4 separate regions of the Homo sapiens genome follow, and all the other regions are linked to region 1. The links are contacts of gene promoters, found by promoter capture Hi-C in human tissues and cell types (Jung and others, 2019). All regions are on one chromosome and are shown on one strand. The core of a region is centred on a gene start or on the middle of the fragment in contact, and the rest is flanking DNA. Distances in the headings are between cores, read along the strand shown. Region 1 overlaps SPPL3 (signal peptide peptidase like 3). Region 2 holds the start of P2RX4 (purinergic receptor P2X 4). Region 3 holds the start of MSI1 (musashi RNA binding protein 1). Region 4 holds the start of P2RX7 (purinergic receptor P2X 7).

The links. The method cuts DNA at HindIII sites, captures the fragments that hold promoters and counts their contacts. A contact is called where the count stands out against the background at its distance.
Region 2: a contact is called between the fragment with the promoter of P2RX4 here and a fragment that was not itself captured in region 1, in 8 of the 25 tissues and cell types used here (H1 embryonic stem cells, dorsolateral prefrontal cortex, hippocampus and 5 more).
Region 3: the fragment with the promoter of MSI1 here is called in contact with a fragment that was not itself captured in region 1 in 4 of the 25 tissues and cell types used here (bladder, dorsolateral prefrontal cortex, liver and 1 more).
Region 4: the fragment with the promoter of P2RX7 here is called in contact with a fragment that was not itself captured in region 1 in 8 of the 25 tissues and cell types used here (H1 embryonic stem cells, IMR-90 fibroblasts, bladder and 5 more).

The regions. Positions count from the first base shown.
Region 1 is chr12:120,801,511-120,805,448 of GRCh38, reverse strand. All of the region lies in intron 2 of SPPL3 (signal peptide peptidase like 3), which reads left to right. Among named protein-coding and RNA genes, the nearest start is that of ACADS, 78 kb to the right of the region's middle. The HindIII fragment of the contact is 8,897 bases long and covers 1-3,938 here.
Region 2 is chr12:121,207,085-121,211,405 of GRCh38, reverse strand. P2RX4 (purinergic receptor P2X 4) reads right to left here and starts at 1,277. Exons shown (of 12, transcript NM_002560.3): 1 at 1,108-1,277. The coding sequence starts at 1,241. It overlaps LOC105370032 (a long non-coding RNA gene), which reads left to right and starts at 1,334. Exons shown (of 4, transcript XR_001749352.3): 1 at 1,334-1,557. RefSeq lists an enhancer at 452-501 and a silencer at 832-1,571. The HindIII fragment of the contact is 10,060 bases long and covers 1-4,321 here.
Region 3 is chr12:120,366,949-120,370,933 of GRCh38, reverse strand. It overlaps MSI1 (musashi RNA binding protein 1), which reads left to right and starts at 1,770. Exons shown (of 15, transcript NM_002442.4): 1 at 1,770-1,901; 2 at 2,061-2,101; 3 at 2,661-2,742; 4 at 2,842-2,926. The coding sequence starts at 1,843. The HindIII fragment of the contact is 19,353 bases long and covers 1-3,985 here.
Region 4 is chr12:121,130,400-121,134,830 of GRCh38, reverse strand. P2RX7 (purinergic receptor P2X 7) reads right to left here and starts at 1,955. Exons shown (of 13, transcript NM_002562.6): 1 at 1,736-1,955. The coding sequence starts at 1,860. The region is part of intron 2 of LOC105370032 (a long non-coding RNA gene); the gene reads left to right. The HindIII fragment of the contact is 21,026 bases long and covers 1-4,431 here.

The DNA.
Region 1 (3,938 bases), core at 664-3,163:
AGGGAAAGCATTTCCCATTAAGTATGTAGTTAGTTGTACATTTTTCATAAATGCCCTTTATCAGGTTGAAGAAATTTCTCTTATTTCTAGTTTGTGGAGAGTTTTATCATGAATGGGTATTGGATTTTATCATGTGTTCTTATGCTTCTATTGAGTTGATCCTGTGGTTTTTGTCCATTTAATTTATATAGTATATTTTAACAGCTTTATTGAGAGATAAATACCATAAAGTTTGGTCACTTAAAGTATACAATTCAGTGGGTTTTAGTTTATTTACAAAATTGTTCAGCCGTCACTGTAATCCAATTTTAGCACATTATCATCCCAAAAGAAAATTTGTACCAGTTAGCAGTCATTCCCATTCCTCTTTCCCTGCCCGCCAGCCCTAGGCAACCATGAATCTACCTTTTATCTCTATAGATTTGCCTATTCTGGACCTCTCGTATAAGTGGTGTCATACAGTATGTGACCTTTTGTTACTGGCTTCTTTCACTTAGCATGTTTTTGAAGTTTATCTGTGTTGTAGCATGTTATCAGTATTTCATTCCTTTTTATTACTGAATAATACTTTTTGTTTTTCCATTCATTGGCTGATAGACGTTTGGGTTGTTTCCCTTTTTTGGCTTTTATGAATAATGTTACTGTGAACATTTGTGTACAAGTTTCTGTGCAGACATAACATATTTATTGCCCTCAAGCAGATACCTAGTAGCAGAATTGCTGGGTCTAATGGTAACTCTTAGTCTTAACATTTTAAGAAATGCTTCTGTTTTCCAAGGCAGCTATGCTATTGTACATTCCCACTAGCAATGTATGAGGTTTCCAATTTCTCCACTTCTTCACCAACACTTGTTATTATCTATCTTTATGATTATAGCTATTCTACTGTTCTGGTGGGTATGAAGTGGTATCTCATTATAATTTTGGTTTGCATTTTCTTAATGCCTACTGATGTTGAGCATCTTTTCATGTGCCCATTTGCCATCTATGTCTCTTCTTTGGTGTCTTTTCAACTCTTCTGTCCATTTTTAAATTGGGTTTTCTTTTTCTTGTTGAATTTTGAGTGTTCTTTCTTTATTGTGAAAATGGGTTTTTGTTATAAGTGCCTCTGGGTTTGTCTTTTCACTTTCTGTATGCTTATAATTGTTATCTATTTCTTGACTTTTATAAAATGTTCCTCTTTATCTCTAGTAACAGTTTCTGTCTTAACATTGTCCAAAAAAGGCTATTTAGATTTTCTTGAGTTAGTTTTTGGTCATTTGTATTATAACTCAAGAGTAACTAGTTCCTTTTTTGTAAAGGCAAGCACCTACCAATGCTTTCTTAGGTAATGAGGGCAGTTCATTTACGTATACCCAAACCTACTCTAGGAAGACAACATCAGGTTAGTAAGCCTGCAGAGATGCTGAGTTCTTTAATAAGAACTATACTTGATATGATTGTGATGCCCTTCATTCTAAGTGCATATAATTGTAGTTAGACCATGGTTCACCAGAACAAGTGTCACTATGGTTCACAATTGTCATGATGTTCTAATTGTGTGTAATATGTTGATTAACTTTTGAGCTACCCTTTTTGTCATTCCATAACTCGTCCTACTTGAAGAAAACATCATACACAGAAGCCTGAACTTGTTAGATGACGTAGGGAATGATTTTGTCCATTGCAGCGTGTGTAGACAAGTTTTTTTATATATTTAAGAATTTCATCAATTCACTATTAAATGTTCAATTTATAAAACCACTGTAAGTTTTCTAGGAACACATATTTAACTTAACCTAACTTTAACCATGTAATGTTTACCTTGAACCAGTGAGTCCCCGCTTCATTGTACTCACTTTCAATAGTAGAATTATCAAAAAACTTTCTTTTTAAAATTTTTTATAAATTAAAATTTTATTATTTTTTCATTTTTTCACTCCTTTCTGGAGCTGAGAAAAAAATAATGTTAAGGTTAAAAATTCCAATTTGCTTTTCTCCTCCAGTAATTCACAGTGTCCTCAGGTATCAGAATGCAAATGGATGAACGAGTATAACTTTCAATAAACTGATCTGCTCTCCCCTCCATTTTGCTTCCTACAATTGTTTATTTGTGCTCTTCACTGCCCGATTTCAGAGCATGTACTAACTTTTGCAAGTTACTTCAAGGAAAAATAAAATGGGGCCAAAGAAAACTAAAAGTATGAGTGGAGACAAAATAGAGCCAAAAAAGAAATGTAAAAATGCATACCATAATGCCAGCACTCCTGTTACTAGTGTTTCACAAGGACCACCATAAGCTTTGTAGCAGCCAGATTTAAAAAGAAAGAATGTAAAACTCAGCTTCCTTCCATCAAAAGAACTCAGTTGTTCAGGTGAATCGCAACTGTTCTTGGCCTTAAGATCAGACAGACTTTTATCCTAACGACCTTCATAAAGAGGATATAATGTTAAGTTCATTCATCTCACAGTAGGCATTCAAATAAGTGTTTGTTGAATGAATTGTAGTACCTTCAATATAAGTTGGTGGCATTGCATGAAAATGTATTTCAGCAAAAGCAGTTTTGCCAAAATTGAAGGTGCACAGTGGGCAACAGGATGTTGTTGTTTAGATAACCATCTTACTGCTAAGTGTGGTCTAAGGTTATATTTTGGAATATCTGGAGAATGAATGGGCTGTTAATTCTTAAACTGGTTATTCTTGAATGTTGATCTGTTAATAAATATTGGTAGCAGACCAGGCACGGTGGCTCACGCTTGTAATCCCAGCATGTTCAGAGGCCAAGGTGGGAGGATCACGTGAGGTCAGGAGTTCCAAGACCAGCCTGGCCAACATGGTGAAACTCCATCTCTACTCAAAATACAAAAATTAGCCAGGCGTGTTGATGCATGCCTGTAATCCCAGCTACTCAGGAGGCTGAGGCAGGAGAATCGCTTGAACTGGGAGGCAGAGGTTGCAGTGAGCCGAGATTGCGCCACTGCACTCCAGCCTGGGCCACAAACTGAGACTCCATCTCAAAAAGGAAAAAAAAAAAAAATATATATATATATATACACACACACACACACACATATATGTGTATATATATACATATATATGTATATATATACACACATACATACATACATACATATATAAAAGCAGCAGCCCAAAAATGTATTATGTTGCCAGCTAAATACAGACCTAGTTGTCTTAACAGCACTCATGGTGCATTCGTATTTTTATCAGAATGAAGGAACCTAATACCTAAATATAAGCCCATGTTTCCCCTTGTCCTGAGGCAGGCAGTGGAAGTTCCTAAAGGCAGGCCTAGAATCTTCCTCAGAAAATCCTTTTTAATCCACTCTAGGACATAAAGAAATGAGTAGTTGATTTCCTAAAGTTCTGTTCCTTGCAACTGAATTAATTCTAGCCTGAAACAAATTTAGGGCAAATATAACCAGATCTCTACCTCAGCCACACTAAAATCTTATTAAGGCACTCACAGAATATTAATATACTTCTTGATATAGTGTCTGTAATAAACTTCATGTGAAATGTACATCAAAGTGACCAAAACACCAAACTGGAATTTATACTTACACCCAATTTAAAGTTGAAGAATGTTGATGAGTTGTCATTCTAACTGACACTAATTAGCTGACAGGGTCAGTGGCCATCTGGACCTTACCCAGTTCAAGGCTAAACCATATCATTCACCTATAAAGCCTGCTGGTCTTAATATTTCTCTGTAGTAAGACAGCTCATGTGCAGCTTATCTAAAAATGATACCAGATCAAGTTTACTTGGGGAGAAATACTCTGTAGGTTTTTTTGTTTGTTTGTTTTTATGAGAAAAAAGCAGTATATACTAATGTGGAAAGATGTAGCGCGTCAAGCAGTGAGCCCATTACTTGGTGTAACAGGGCCAAGGGAAAACTTCCTCTGTGCCCCCTGAATCCTCGCTGAAAAATCCACTG
Region 2 (4,321 bases), core at 28-2,527, 410 kb before region 1:
AGCCTGAAACCCCGTCTCTACTAAAAAATACAAAAATTGGCCGGGCGTGGTGGCGGGCACTTGTAATCCCAGCCACTCAGGAGACTGAGACAGGAGAATTGCTTGAACCCGGGAGGCAGAGGTTGCAGTGAGCCGAGATCGTGCCATTGCACTCCAGCCCGGGCGACAAGAGAGAAATTCCGTCTCAAAAAAATAAAAAAATTAAAAAAGTAACAGGTGCCTTCAAGTACAATGGCACATTCAGCGAGGCCTGAGGGCGGTAGGGCATCTCTAGCCTAAGGGGGCAGCATGGGGAATGACTGACTAGGCTAGGGCAGGTACCACAAAAAGCCCCACAAGCCCAGAAAACAAAGGAAGCAAACTTTAAACACTCGCTACAGTCTGACCTCGCTACTACCACATAGTGACACCGCATAGTGATCAAAAGAAATGACCAAAAGCCACCCACCCAGAAGGAACCAAGCGGAAATTCCAAGCTTTGGTTTTGTCAGCAAATCAGCAGGATGGGAAGTGGAGAGCGAAGATTGAGACGTTCAGGGCGAAGCCCCTACAGCCAAGGGGCACTATGGGGGGTCAGGCAGGAGAGGGTAACAGCCTAGCCAGGCTTTGCCTTTATTTATTTTGTAAACAGACGGGTCTCGGACTGTCTCCCAGGCTCGAGTTAAGTGGTGTGATCATAGCTCACTGCAGCCTCAGCCTCTTGGGCTCAAGCGATCCTCCCACCTCAGCCTCCTGAGTAGCTGGGACCCCAGGCGCGCGCCACCAGGCCCGGATGATTTTTAATTTTTTGCAGAGACGGGGTCCCACGATGTTGCCCAAATTGGTTTCGAACTCCTGGGCTCAGGCGATGGTCCCGCCTCGGGCTCCCAAAGTGCTCGGATTACAGGCTTGCGCCACCGCGCCTGGCCCAGGCTGTGGTTTTAAAACAGCAGCAAGCAGCCTCCCGCCCCCGGGGCCCCGGCGCGGCGGCTGGGGCCCAGGGAAGGTGTCACCGCCTCGGCTCGCCGCTCCCGGACTCGCCCAGGTGACCGAGGCCAGGATGAGCCGCCGCACGGCGCGGACGCGAGGGCAGCACCCGCCGCGCCCCCCGCGCGGCCCCACGCTCACCCGATGACGTAGGCCAGGATGAGCAGTTGCACGGCGCGGTTCATGAGCCCCACTTTGCGGCTGCGGATGAGCACGATGCGCGGCGTGTCGTACTCGAACAGGAAGGCCGCCAGCGCGGCGCAGCAGCCCGCCATGGCCGCGCCGCCCGCTCCCAGTCCCCTAGTCGGTCTGGGTCCCAGTCCCCGCTCGGAGCCCCGCCCAGTCCGCCTGGCCTGCTGGCGGCGCCGTCATCGCGGAGGAGGGCCCGGAAGGAGGCAGCACGGGCGGTCGGGGCCCGGGGCCCGGGGGAGGGCGCCACCTCCCCGTCGGGAACGATGACCCTCTAGGGGGCATGGAACTCGCGGGGGGGGAGTGGCCTCGCCCTTGAGGACGAAAGGCTCCTTCAAAAGGCGGGCGAGGGGCCGGGGGCGGTGGCTCACACCTGTCATCCCAGCACTTGCGGAGGCCGAGGTGAGAGGAATCTTGAGTTAGAGACCAGCCTGGACAACATAGCGAGACCTCGTCTCTATCAAAAATACAAAAAAAAAAAAAAAAAAAAAAAAAAAGCGGGCGTAGTGGCGCTCGCCTGTAGTCCCAGGGAGGCTGAGGTGAGAGGATCGCTTGAGCCCAGGAGGTAGAGGCTGCCGTGTGAGCTGTGATCGCGCCACTGCACTCCAGTCTGGGAGATGAAGCGAGACCCTGCCTCAATAAACCAGAAACCAAAAAACAACAAAAAAGGCGAGTTGGGGAGTAATGACCTTCTCAGGAGGGCCAGAGAGAACAAGAGACCCTTTCGGGGAAGATGGGGTCCGCGAAGAGAGAGTGACCTCCCATTTGGGACAGAGTTCAAGTGAGGGGTAACGAGCGACCTCCCTTAGGGGTACTGATAGGTGCCAGGGATTTCCGTAGAGGACCCCGGGGCTGTGCGGAGTAGCCATCGCTCACGAGTGCGGGCTCCTAAACTTGGGCAGCTGTGGTTGGGGGAGCTGGGGCCGCGCTGTCCTTAGCCTCTTGGGGAACAGCCTAAATATCAGGTGTCCTGTGAGCCCTGGGTGAGAGCCACACGCCCTGTAAAATACCCCTCCTGGATTTGAAGCCTGGTCGCATTCTCACTCCAAATACTTCCTTAGTTGCAGCCCAGGGGAGATAATTCTGTGGTCATCCTTTCCACTGAGAAAATGCTATCACAACTTTAGGAGAGAAAATAGTGAAAGGGGGGGAAACAGCCACCGTTCTACCCCATGAATACAATTTTCCGCATGTGTATTTGTTCATTCCCTTCAGATACGTTTTTTCTTTTTCTTTTTCTTTTTTTTTTTGAGACGGAGTTTCACTCTTGTCCAGTCTGGAGTGCAGTGGCGCGATCTCGGCTCACTGTAACCTCCGCCTCCCAGGTTCAAGCAATTCTCCTGCCTCAGCCTCTTGAGTAGCTGGGATTACAAGTGCCCGCCACCACGCCCAGCTAATTTTTGTATTTTTATTAGAGACAGGTTTTCACCATGTTGGCCAGGCTGATCTCCAGCTCCTGACCTCCCATGATCCACCCGCCTCGGGCTCCCAAAGTGTTGGGATTACAGGCGTGAGCCACTGCGCCTGGCCCAGATGTGTTTTCACAGGTGAATGTTATATTTAGTTTCCCAGAAAATATTCATAAGCACATCCTTTATGCCAAGTACTGTCCAGTGAACAGGACAAGCAAAATATCCTGCCTTCATGCAGCATAAATTCCAACAGGTAATTGGTATAAAGTTTTGGTTTGTAATCATAGTCAATGGCTGTGCTTTTCATTTTCTGATTCGCACTACGTGGTTTCTGTGTTACTGCAGACTCATCATAATGACAATTTTTAATCCATGGACCATTTCTTCCGGAAAATATACCACGATGTCTCTAACCGCTCTCATCTGCTTGCTTCTTAGTTTGTGGATCCTATGCATAATCTTTGATACAACATTTTTAGCTCATTTCCTGGATATGAGATTCCTAAGTAAGCCACACCAACTTGTTTTTCCAAATATAGAAAGGTGAATAATAAAATTTGCAGAAAACAGGCAGCATCTGCCTCTAAGAGATGGAATTCTTAAGTTAGAGGGAGGAACAGAGATGCCCATGCCAGCCTTGGTCCAAAATGGTCTCAGGAAAAGGTGGTGGTATTTTATTCATTCATTTGACAGAAATTTACTGAGTGCCTGTTGTGTGCTTGGCACTTTTCTTGATGCTAGGGCTATGGAGTGGACAGGTGAGGTATCTGCCCAAATGGAGTTTGGTGCAATTGGGAAGCCTCAAATTATCTGTAGAAGAAGAAAACTCCATTGCTAAATCCTCATTGGAAGGGGACTTAAAAATCATTTCCTTAAGAATCAAAACATGGCTGGGCACGGTGGCTCACACCTATAACTGCAGCACTTTGGGAGGCCGAGGCAGGCGGATGATCATGTGAGGTCAGGAGCTGGAGACCAGCCTGGCCAACATGGTGAAACCTCATCTCTACTGAAAATATAAAAAACTTAGCTGGGCCTTATGGCAGGTGCCTGTAATCCCAGCTACTCGGGAGGCTGAGGCAGGAAGAATTGCTTGAACCTGGGAGGCGGAGGTTGCAGTGAGCTGAAATTGTGCCACTGCACTCCAGCCTGGGTGACAGACTCCATCTCAAAACAAACAAACAAACCCCAAAAAACACCAGGCACGTGGCTTACACCTTTAATCCCAGCACTTTGGCAGGCCAAGGTGGGTGGATCACCTGACATTGGGAGTTCGAGACCAGCCTGACCAACAATGGAGAAACCCCGTCTCTACTAAAAATACAAAAATTAGCTGGGCGTGGTGGCGCATGCCTGTAATCTCAGCTACTCAGGAGGCTGAGGCAGGAGAATTGCTTGAACCGGGGAGGTGGAGGTTGCCATGAGCTGATCACGCCATTGCACTCCAGCCTGGGCGACAAGAGTGAAACTCCATCTCAGAAAAAATAAAAATAAAAAATAATGGCAGCAATCAAAACACATTTCCAGCCTTCATTCATACTTACCCTATAGTAATGAGTTAGTCCCAACCTCACAAATCTTGAATTTAGATGGTTTGCTTGTGTTTTGGAATGGGGTCAGTTAAGAAAAATGTAGAAATGCAAGTTTTTATAAATTACTAGTTGGTAACATCATTAGGCCTGACCAAAGAAGCTGATCCTAAAAAATGATTTGGAAAAGTTATTTTGTTTACACTGTTGCTCTTGGATTATCTC
Region 3 (3,985 bases), core at 521-3,020, 430 kb after region 1:
CCTGATGGTTGGGGTGGGGAGAGGGAAGGAGGGCTATCAAGAGGGGGATGGGCACCCTTCCAGAGGTCAGAGTTATGATGCCCAGGAATAAAAGGTGTTGAATTCAGGATGGAATGTGAAGGTGAACAGCAAAGGGCTTGTCAACATGGGTTGTCACTGGATTACACCGGATGGATTAAGGTAGGGATGGGGGAAGGAGTAGAAGGTGAGTTGGGAGGGAGGGGCTTGTGTGGCACTGAGACCCCCAGCAGGGATGGGGAGAAGGGGTGTTGGCCACCTAAGCTTCCTGGTTTGATCCTTTTTTGGCTGGTTTCAGCTGGGGAAGTGAAGGGTCCTAAGGCTTGGATATGGAGAGGTGGGAATATGGAGAGGTGGGGATATGGAGAGGCGGGGATAAGGAGAGGTGGGGATAAGGAGAGTGGCCCCGCAGCTCCCCTGGTGAACCAGAATACTTTCTCAGGGTTGTTCCCAGGCTGGAGGGAGGGAATTTTAGGGGTACGTAAGGTGACTCCAAGGAGCCTTGGGTGCAAGTACTGGGGGATCCCAGAGACCCAGAAGATGGGGGTAGAAAGGAAGGTGTTTGCCTTCACGGGGAGTAGCCTCAAAATAAGAGGGACTGAGGGAAGTCATTCCAAATGCAGTGGGTAGGTAGTTTAGGCTCTTCCAATGGGATGGGGTGGAGCTTAGACCTCTGCAAAAGAAGGGGGTCATTCGGAGGGGACGGTGCACAGCTGAGGCGTTGGGCTCCTAAACTGGAAACAGGAGGCTCTAAGAGGCACTGCCTTTTCCTCCAGCCTCGGTGTGGTGGGGGTGGTGAGTGTCTGGAACCGGGTTTCCCGAATCAGGACAGGAGTCTGAATGGATCTCACAAAAACCGGCCAGGGAGGGAGAGAACCAGGGGAGACTCCTCACACCGGGAGGTGGGGGTGGCGGCAAACTGAGAACCCGGGCTTGGGGCGCGGGATTTTCTCAACAGACCATAGGGTCCACTAATGTGGACGGCAGGGATTTGGGGAAACTAAGGGGGACTCTCACTTTGGACACCAAGGGCTGAGGACGGATTGGGGAAGAGGATACGGTTTCTACTGGGGTGCTGATGGAGGTTCCCCACTCGGGACGCGAGGCACTGAGTGGGTCCCCCAAACTGGATATGGGATCCTGGGAACGGAGCGAGGGCTCTAAATTAGAGCCCTGGGGTGGGGGTGGGGGGCTGTAAATTAGGTTGGGAGGAAACTGGGGGCTCTGAGGGCGGCTTCTCGCTCCGACTGGGGAAATGGAGCATGTGGGGACTGGGGAGCACTAGGGCTATCTCCCGCCCGACCCGAGGAGATTGGGGTTCTCTTCAATTCTGGACAGCAGGGACCTGAGAGGGAAGACCGGGGGGGTTCCCGATCCGGAACCGAGCTACCTTGAAGGCACCGGGAAGCGCTTCATTCCGGGAGGGCGTTCCCGCGGCCGGGCCCCCGCGCCGGGGTGGGTGGGGGGTGCGGCCGCGCCCTGGTCCCGGCCCGCACCGGGATTCGGGGGTCTCGCTCGGCCCCGGAGACCCAGGAGCCCCGCGGGAAGGGGGTCCCGGCGCCGCCGCCTCCGCGGGCGCCCGGGCTCGCGGGCGAGCGCGGGGCTTTATGCGCGCAGGGCGGCGGGGGGAGGAGCCGGCAGGTCGGCCCCCGGCGGGCCCTCCCCTCGGCCGTCCCCGCCCGCCCGCCCGAGCGGGGTCGGGGGAGGGGGCAGCATGGCCTGTCCGTCCGGCCCCCTTCGCCGCGCTCCTCATCTGCCCCGCGCCGAGCGCCGCCGCCGCCGCCGCCGCCGCCGCTCCGCTGCCCGCGCCGCCCGCGGCTCCCGATGGAGACTGACGCGCCCCAGCCCGGCCTCGCCTCCCCGGACTCGCCGCACGACCCCTGGTACGGCCCGGCCCGGCCTGCTTGGCCCGCGCCCGCCCCGGCCCCGCCAACATGGCCGATCCGGGTCCGGCCGGGCCTCCCCGGAGCCCGGGCCCGCGCCCCCTGCGCCCTGGCGCCCGGCGCTCACGCGGGCCCTTTGTGTCTCTCCTCCTCCCGCAGCAAGATGTTCATCGGGGGACTCAGTTGGCAGACTACGCAGGGTGAGCGAGCCCGGGAGCGCCCGCCGGTCCGGCAGGGCACCCCGGACCCCCCGGCGCCCCGGACCCGGACACCCCAGCCCGGCCCTGCGCCCTGCTGACCCCGGGCGCCCTCGCGCCCTCTTTCGCGCCCCGCCCGGAGACCCCGAGAGCGCAGGGCGATCCGCGAGCGCACCCGGCCCAGCGGGTGGAGGGGAGCAGATGAGGGGTTCAGGGGGTATCGGGGGGTGGGCTGGGCCCCCGGGACCCGCCGGCGGCAGCGCCAACTCCGCTCGCACCTGCGGCTCAAACTTTTGTGAGGCTGCTCCCGGAGCGGCGGGAACCCGGCCGGAGCCGTCCCCCTTCCAGCCCAGCTCGGCCCTCGGCTTCCCGGGGCCCCGGTGGGCGCCAGGAGGCTCAGCGGGAACGGGGCGAGGGCGGTGGGGGGCGGCGGCAGTGGAGAACGCGCGGGCAGCTTGGCGCGGGGGCGGCCGGGCCGCTCCGGGGTCACCGGGGGCAAAGGACGGGGGGGGGGGAAGGGCGCGGGGCCCGGGCTGGTCCGAAGGCGGGTGTGTGGTTACAGAAGGGCTGCGCGAATACTTCGGCCAGTTCGGGGAGGTGAAGGAGTGTCTGGTGATGCGGGACCCCCTGACCAAGAGATCCAGGTGAGCCCCTCACCCCCTCCTCCTGCTCCCGGCTCGCCCCCCTCCACCCGCCACTCACTGCCTTGTAACCATCTGCCTCTCCCTCACTACGGCGCGCAGGGGTTTCGGCTTCGTCACTTTCATGGACCAGGCGGGGGTGGATAAAGTGCTGGCGCAATCGCGGCACGAGCTCGACTCCAAAACAGTGAGTGGCCCTCGGGGCTTCGGGGGTCCTTTGGGAGAGGGAGGCTGCCGGAGGAGAGGGTCAGGACTCTCCCCAGGGGACAGCTGGACGGGGTCCATGAGGAAGGAGGGAGTTTTTCTGAGTAAGAGGGCTGCCATGCTCTGAAACTTTGTCACTAGAGTTGGGGGGGAGAGGGAGGAGAAAAATCCCTGGCCTGCCATGAGATGCTACATCCCCCCTCCCCTAGTCCTGGTGAGGGGAGAGGCAGCCGCCACCCTCTCCCTAGAAGTACTAATCATGATGCCTCAGAGCAGAGCTTGGGGTGGGGCTAGGTCCCTCCCCCAGCCCAAATTGGGTGAGTCAGGGTAGCACTGACCCACCCGGTGGCTTCTGTGAACTCTAACTAGTATTTGGCTCTGCGACACCCCCTCTTCATCCAGACCAATGGCAAAGCATCCCTTGAAGCCCCCTCCCTCTCTCCTTCCCTCCTCCCCCGACTTTTGGTCAATGAGCTCCTTGCTTTGTGTGGAAGACAGGGACCTGCTTTGCCCACGGAGGGGATTTATGAGAAAGGCTCTAGCTTGCCTGGAAACGACCCTTCGGAAGACTAGATCTTAGGAGAAGCTGCTTGGTTGGCATTCAAACTCATGGAACATTTTGCTGTTGTCCCACAGCTCCTTCGTGTCTTAGACCCTGCAGGGGGCGCTGGCTCCAGGGCAGATGGAAAAGTAGAAAAGTCAGAGGAGGGGGTTACTCCCATGTGATGGGGGTGTCTGTCTGCTGGGGGCAGGGATAGTGTGGATCTCTTCTCTCCATGCTTCCCTGCTGTCCCCCAGCCTTGGGCCTCTCTGCTTGGGTCAGTCCCTGGCTCCCGTTTACCTGCAACAATAGCTGCTTGTGCCCAAGAATTTGTCAAATTACCGCCTGTCCCCAGCTCCTGTTATCTCTGCCCAGTGGCTCCCGCTCCCGCTCGCAGTAATGAGCAAATGAGGCCAGGCCTCAACTTTGCCGGCTCTGAAAGGATCTTCTTGGCGCAGCCTGAGTGACCCAAGCCTGGAAATGGAGAGACAGTGGCCTATT
Region 4 (4,431 bases), core at 706-3,205, 330 kb before region 1:
ATACAAATTGCCTTCATCATCATTATCAATCAGCACAGAGAATAAGAGGCACTCACCATCAGGGAAATTCAAATCACAACCACAATGAACTACCACTTCACACCCACTAGCATGGCTATAATAAAAAAGACAGACAATCAGCCGGGCGTGGCGGCTCATGCCTGTAATCCCAGCACTTTGGGAGGCCAAGGTGGGCGGATCACTTGAGGTCAGGAGTTTGAGACCAGCCTGGCCTACATGGCGAAACCTCATCTCTACTAAAAATACAAAAATTAGTGAGGAGTGGTGACGCACACCTGTAATCCCAGCTACTCATGAGGCTGAGGCAGGAGAATCGCTTGAACCGGGGAGGTGGAGGTTGCAGTGAGCCAAGATTGCGCCACTGCACTCCAGCCTGGGCAACAGAGCAAGACTTCATCTCAAAGACAAAAACAAAATGACAACAACAAAACCCAAAAAGACAGACGATAACAAGCGTTGGTGAGGATGTGGAGAAATTGGATCCCTCATACTCTGCTGATAGGAATGTAAAAAACTGCAGCTGCTGTGAAATTCAGCTCCACATTCCCCCCAAAGGTGAAACATAGTTAACATATGACCTAGCAATTTTTACTCTTAGGTACATATTCGAGAGAAAGGAGAATATATATCCACATAAAACCTTGTACACAAATGTTCATGTGGCATTATTCATGATAGCCAAAAAAGAGAAACAACCCCAATGTCCATCAATGGATGAATGGATAGAAAAAAGTGGTCTATCCATGCAATGGAGTACTACTCAGCCGTAAAAAGGAATGAAGTATCAGCCGGGTGCAATGGCTCACGCCTGTAATCCTGACACTTTGGGAGGCCGAGGCAGGCAGATCACTTGAGTCCAGGAGTTTGAGACCAGCCTGGACAAAATAGTGAGACCCCGTCTCTTTAAAAAAAAAAATTGAATGAAGTATCAACACATGCTACAACATGGATGAGCATTGAAAACACGCTAAGTGCCACAAAGGACCACATATTATGTGATTCCATTTATATGAAATGTCCAGAATCGGCAAATCCATAGAGGCAGAAAGGAAATTGATGGGTGGGAAGGAGGAGGAACAGTGTTGGAAATGATGGTGAAGGAGTGTGGGATTCCTTTTGAGTCGATTAAAATATTCTAAAATTGATTGTGGGGATGGTTGCACAACTCTGGGAATAATCTGAAAATCATTAAATGGTACCCTTTAAATGGGTCAATTGTATGGTGTATAAATTATATCTCAGTAAGTTTCTTTTAGAAGAAACAAAAACCAAAAAGCAGGGCCTTCCTGACGTTGGTGAGGACCTAAAGTTATAACACATTTTCAAGCCTGGTCCTATTCCTCCCAAGCATGGTGACTCAGATGCCAGCATGATCACCAGGCGTGCCCTGAGATCCTCGCCTCCTCCCTGGGGATCCAGGGTGTTGCCCTGCGCTTTCCTACCTTCCCCAGGCACGCCCTGCCCTGCGCGCCCTGGCGGGCCTGAAGTAGAGCAGAAAGGAATCCCGCTTGTCCTGTGGCTTCTCTCTGCTGCAGCCTGGCACCGTTTCCTCTTGCCTGCTGCTGCTTCCTCCCTCCCGCCCAGCTGGCTGTGAGAGCACGTCTCAGATTCGAAAACCATGTGAGATTCAGAATGTGCACCTGAAGCTGCCCGCTGGGGCTTTCTGTGCTGTCGGCCACTGCAGAGATCTGGGTCCTCCCCAGATCCCACTTACCAAACGTAGGAAAAGATGATCACGTGGAAGAACCACTTAATGGTGCCATAATTCATGCTCTGGATCCGAGTGACTTTGTTCGTCTCATACTGGAAAACATCACTGCAGCTGCAGCAGGCCGGCATGGTGACAGCCTCCCTCCCTGCGCGGAGCTGGACCAGAGCTCTACTCTTCCTGACAGGGCCACAGCAAGCCCCCTCCCAGTAACTGCAAAATGAAACGTACTGGTTTTTAGCAGGAGTCTTTAACTTCAAGCTCCTCCAATGACTGCAGAGTTGGGGCGGGCCCTGGCAGTGGCCCCACATGTGGCTGTGATAAACAAGAAGCGCCAAGTCCTACGGGCCTGGCTGGCAGATGACCTCACCCCAGCTGGCCTCCCCCAGATGCCTACACAAAGATGGTGTTCAGAGGATGGGCATTTTTAGAATTCTCCCTTTTCCCCCCTTTCCTTTCACTTTTTTGGTCTCATGTCTCTTGGGAGAAAGGGGCAGCCTTGCAAATGTCACAAGACTGGGAGCTTCCATTATGCCTCAGAAAAGGACTGAGATCTTTCCATTGCCTGAAGCCCCACTCAGAGATTGATTCATTCATTTCTACAACCCTTTATTCAGCCCCTGATGTATAGGAGCTCTGGGTAAATGAAGATCTCCCCCTCTTCTTCCACCGCCCCTTATAATACTCTGGTCTGCAGTTGGTGGGGGAAATCAGATTTGCAGGGGTAGGGGTGGTGGGGGTGGAGGGGCTTTATTTTTCTGCCAGATCTTTCATGCTTGACCCTCTGAGTTACTCTCCACCCTCCTCTGCACCCCGGCAGGTCGATCTATGACCTAGACCAATCAGCCAAAGATCACCAGGGACACAGTGGCAGTCCAACAAAGTTAGGTTTGTTGACCTATTCAGTGAGGGACACCACCCACCAGAAGAGCTACGCACATCACCAAACAAAGGAAAACAGCAATTTATTATAGGATTCCGAGGAAAGTGGAGTTGAGATAAAATCTAAATGAAGTCATGTTTTGATGGACTCAAAGCAAAACAGGTTTGTACAAAGCAGTCAACTTCAGTCTGGATTGCAAAGAGGACCCAGGGCCCTGTTTCCTAGGAAGCAACATAGCTAAGATACATGTCAAATGTGTCCAGAAAATCTTTATCTGAAGCTCTGCTCCTGAGTTGTAAATTGAGGCTGCTTCTCTGTGTCAAGATGACTTAAATCTTCCAGGCAAAATTGGAATATTTCAGTCTTAGTCATGTAATTTCAAACAGCAAAGTTTCTGAAGGTCTCTGATTTTAAAGGACAATGTTTCAGCAGTCACTCAAAGATGCAGGGTTGTATTATCACTTTACAGCTACAGAGAATTATTGTTCCCTGTTATCTTTACAGCTGGCTTGATCCCTTTCTGTTATTCCAGCCTGCTAAGTGGCCGGGTAGATTTTCAGTTTTTCAGTCTAAACTAATTGTACTTTCTCACACATACAAACTGCATCAGGGTTCCCCTCACCTTCTGGCTTCCAGTTCAGGAGACTGGAGAGCAGTGAGGATGGACGTGACTCCCTGGCCCTGCCCTTCTCAGTTGCATATAGGCAGGGCTTCTGGGCACCACTCCCTCCTTTAGTCCTGGGAGTGGTAAGGGCTCCCCACTCTTACCAGCCCCAGGAAGCTCACTATCTCCTATTGCTTTTTCTTAACTCTGTCCACACCTTTGTAAATGGTTCCATCATTAGTTACCCCACTTGAGTATGCCATTGCTTTCCTGCCGGGAATCTGAGTGATACGGTCATCTTCATCTGTAAAAAGAGGAGATTCACAGGTAAAGCCTGATGCTTAGAACATAGGCTCTAGGGGACTAATGGCCTGGCTTCCGATCCTGGCTTCACATCTTACCAGCTCTGTGACCCTGGACAGCTCTGTTTATGCTATTCATTCACTCATTCCCAAGAGCACCAGGAATAGTAGATATGGCAGTGAACAGGCAGACAAGTCAAATGTCCATCAGCTGATGGATGGATACACAAAAGCACGAAAGCCCATACAAGGGAATATTATTCAGCCATAAAAAGGAATGAAACACTGACCCATGCTCCAACATGGATGAACCTTGAAAACACTACGCTTAAGTGAAAGAGGCCAGACACAAAAGGATACATCTTTTACGACTCCATTTATAGGAAATGTCCAGAATAGGCAAATCACTTCAGTGTTGCTCTTGCTACCACTCAAAGACATCTATTTTCTTGTCTTTCTTTCTTTCTCTTTTCTTTCTTTCTTTTTTTTTTTTTTTTTTTTTTTTTGTTTTTTTGAGATGGAGTCTCCCCCTGTTGCCCAGGCTGTAGTGCAGTGGCAAGACTTTGGGTCACTGCAACCCCTGCCTCCTGGGTTCAAGCGATTCTTGTGCCTCAGCCTCATGAGTATCTGCAATTACAGCCATGCGCACGCTCAGCTGATTTTTGTGTTTTTAGTAGAGATGGGGTTTCACCATGTTGGCTAGGTTGGTCTCGAACTCCTGGTCACAAGCGATCTGCCCGCCTTAGCCTACCAAAGTGTTGGGATTACAGGCGTGAGCCACTACACCCGGCCTGTTTGTTGTCTTTCTGCTGCACTCTTGCACTGGTCCCTCATGCTCTCCCCTCTCCACTCCTTCAGCCCTTGTCCGCTATTTCATCACTGCTACCTCCTCCACTCCATGGATTCTGTTCTC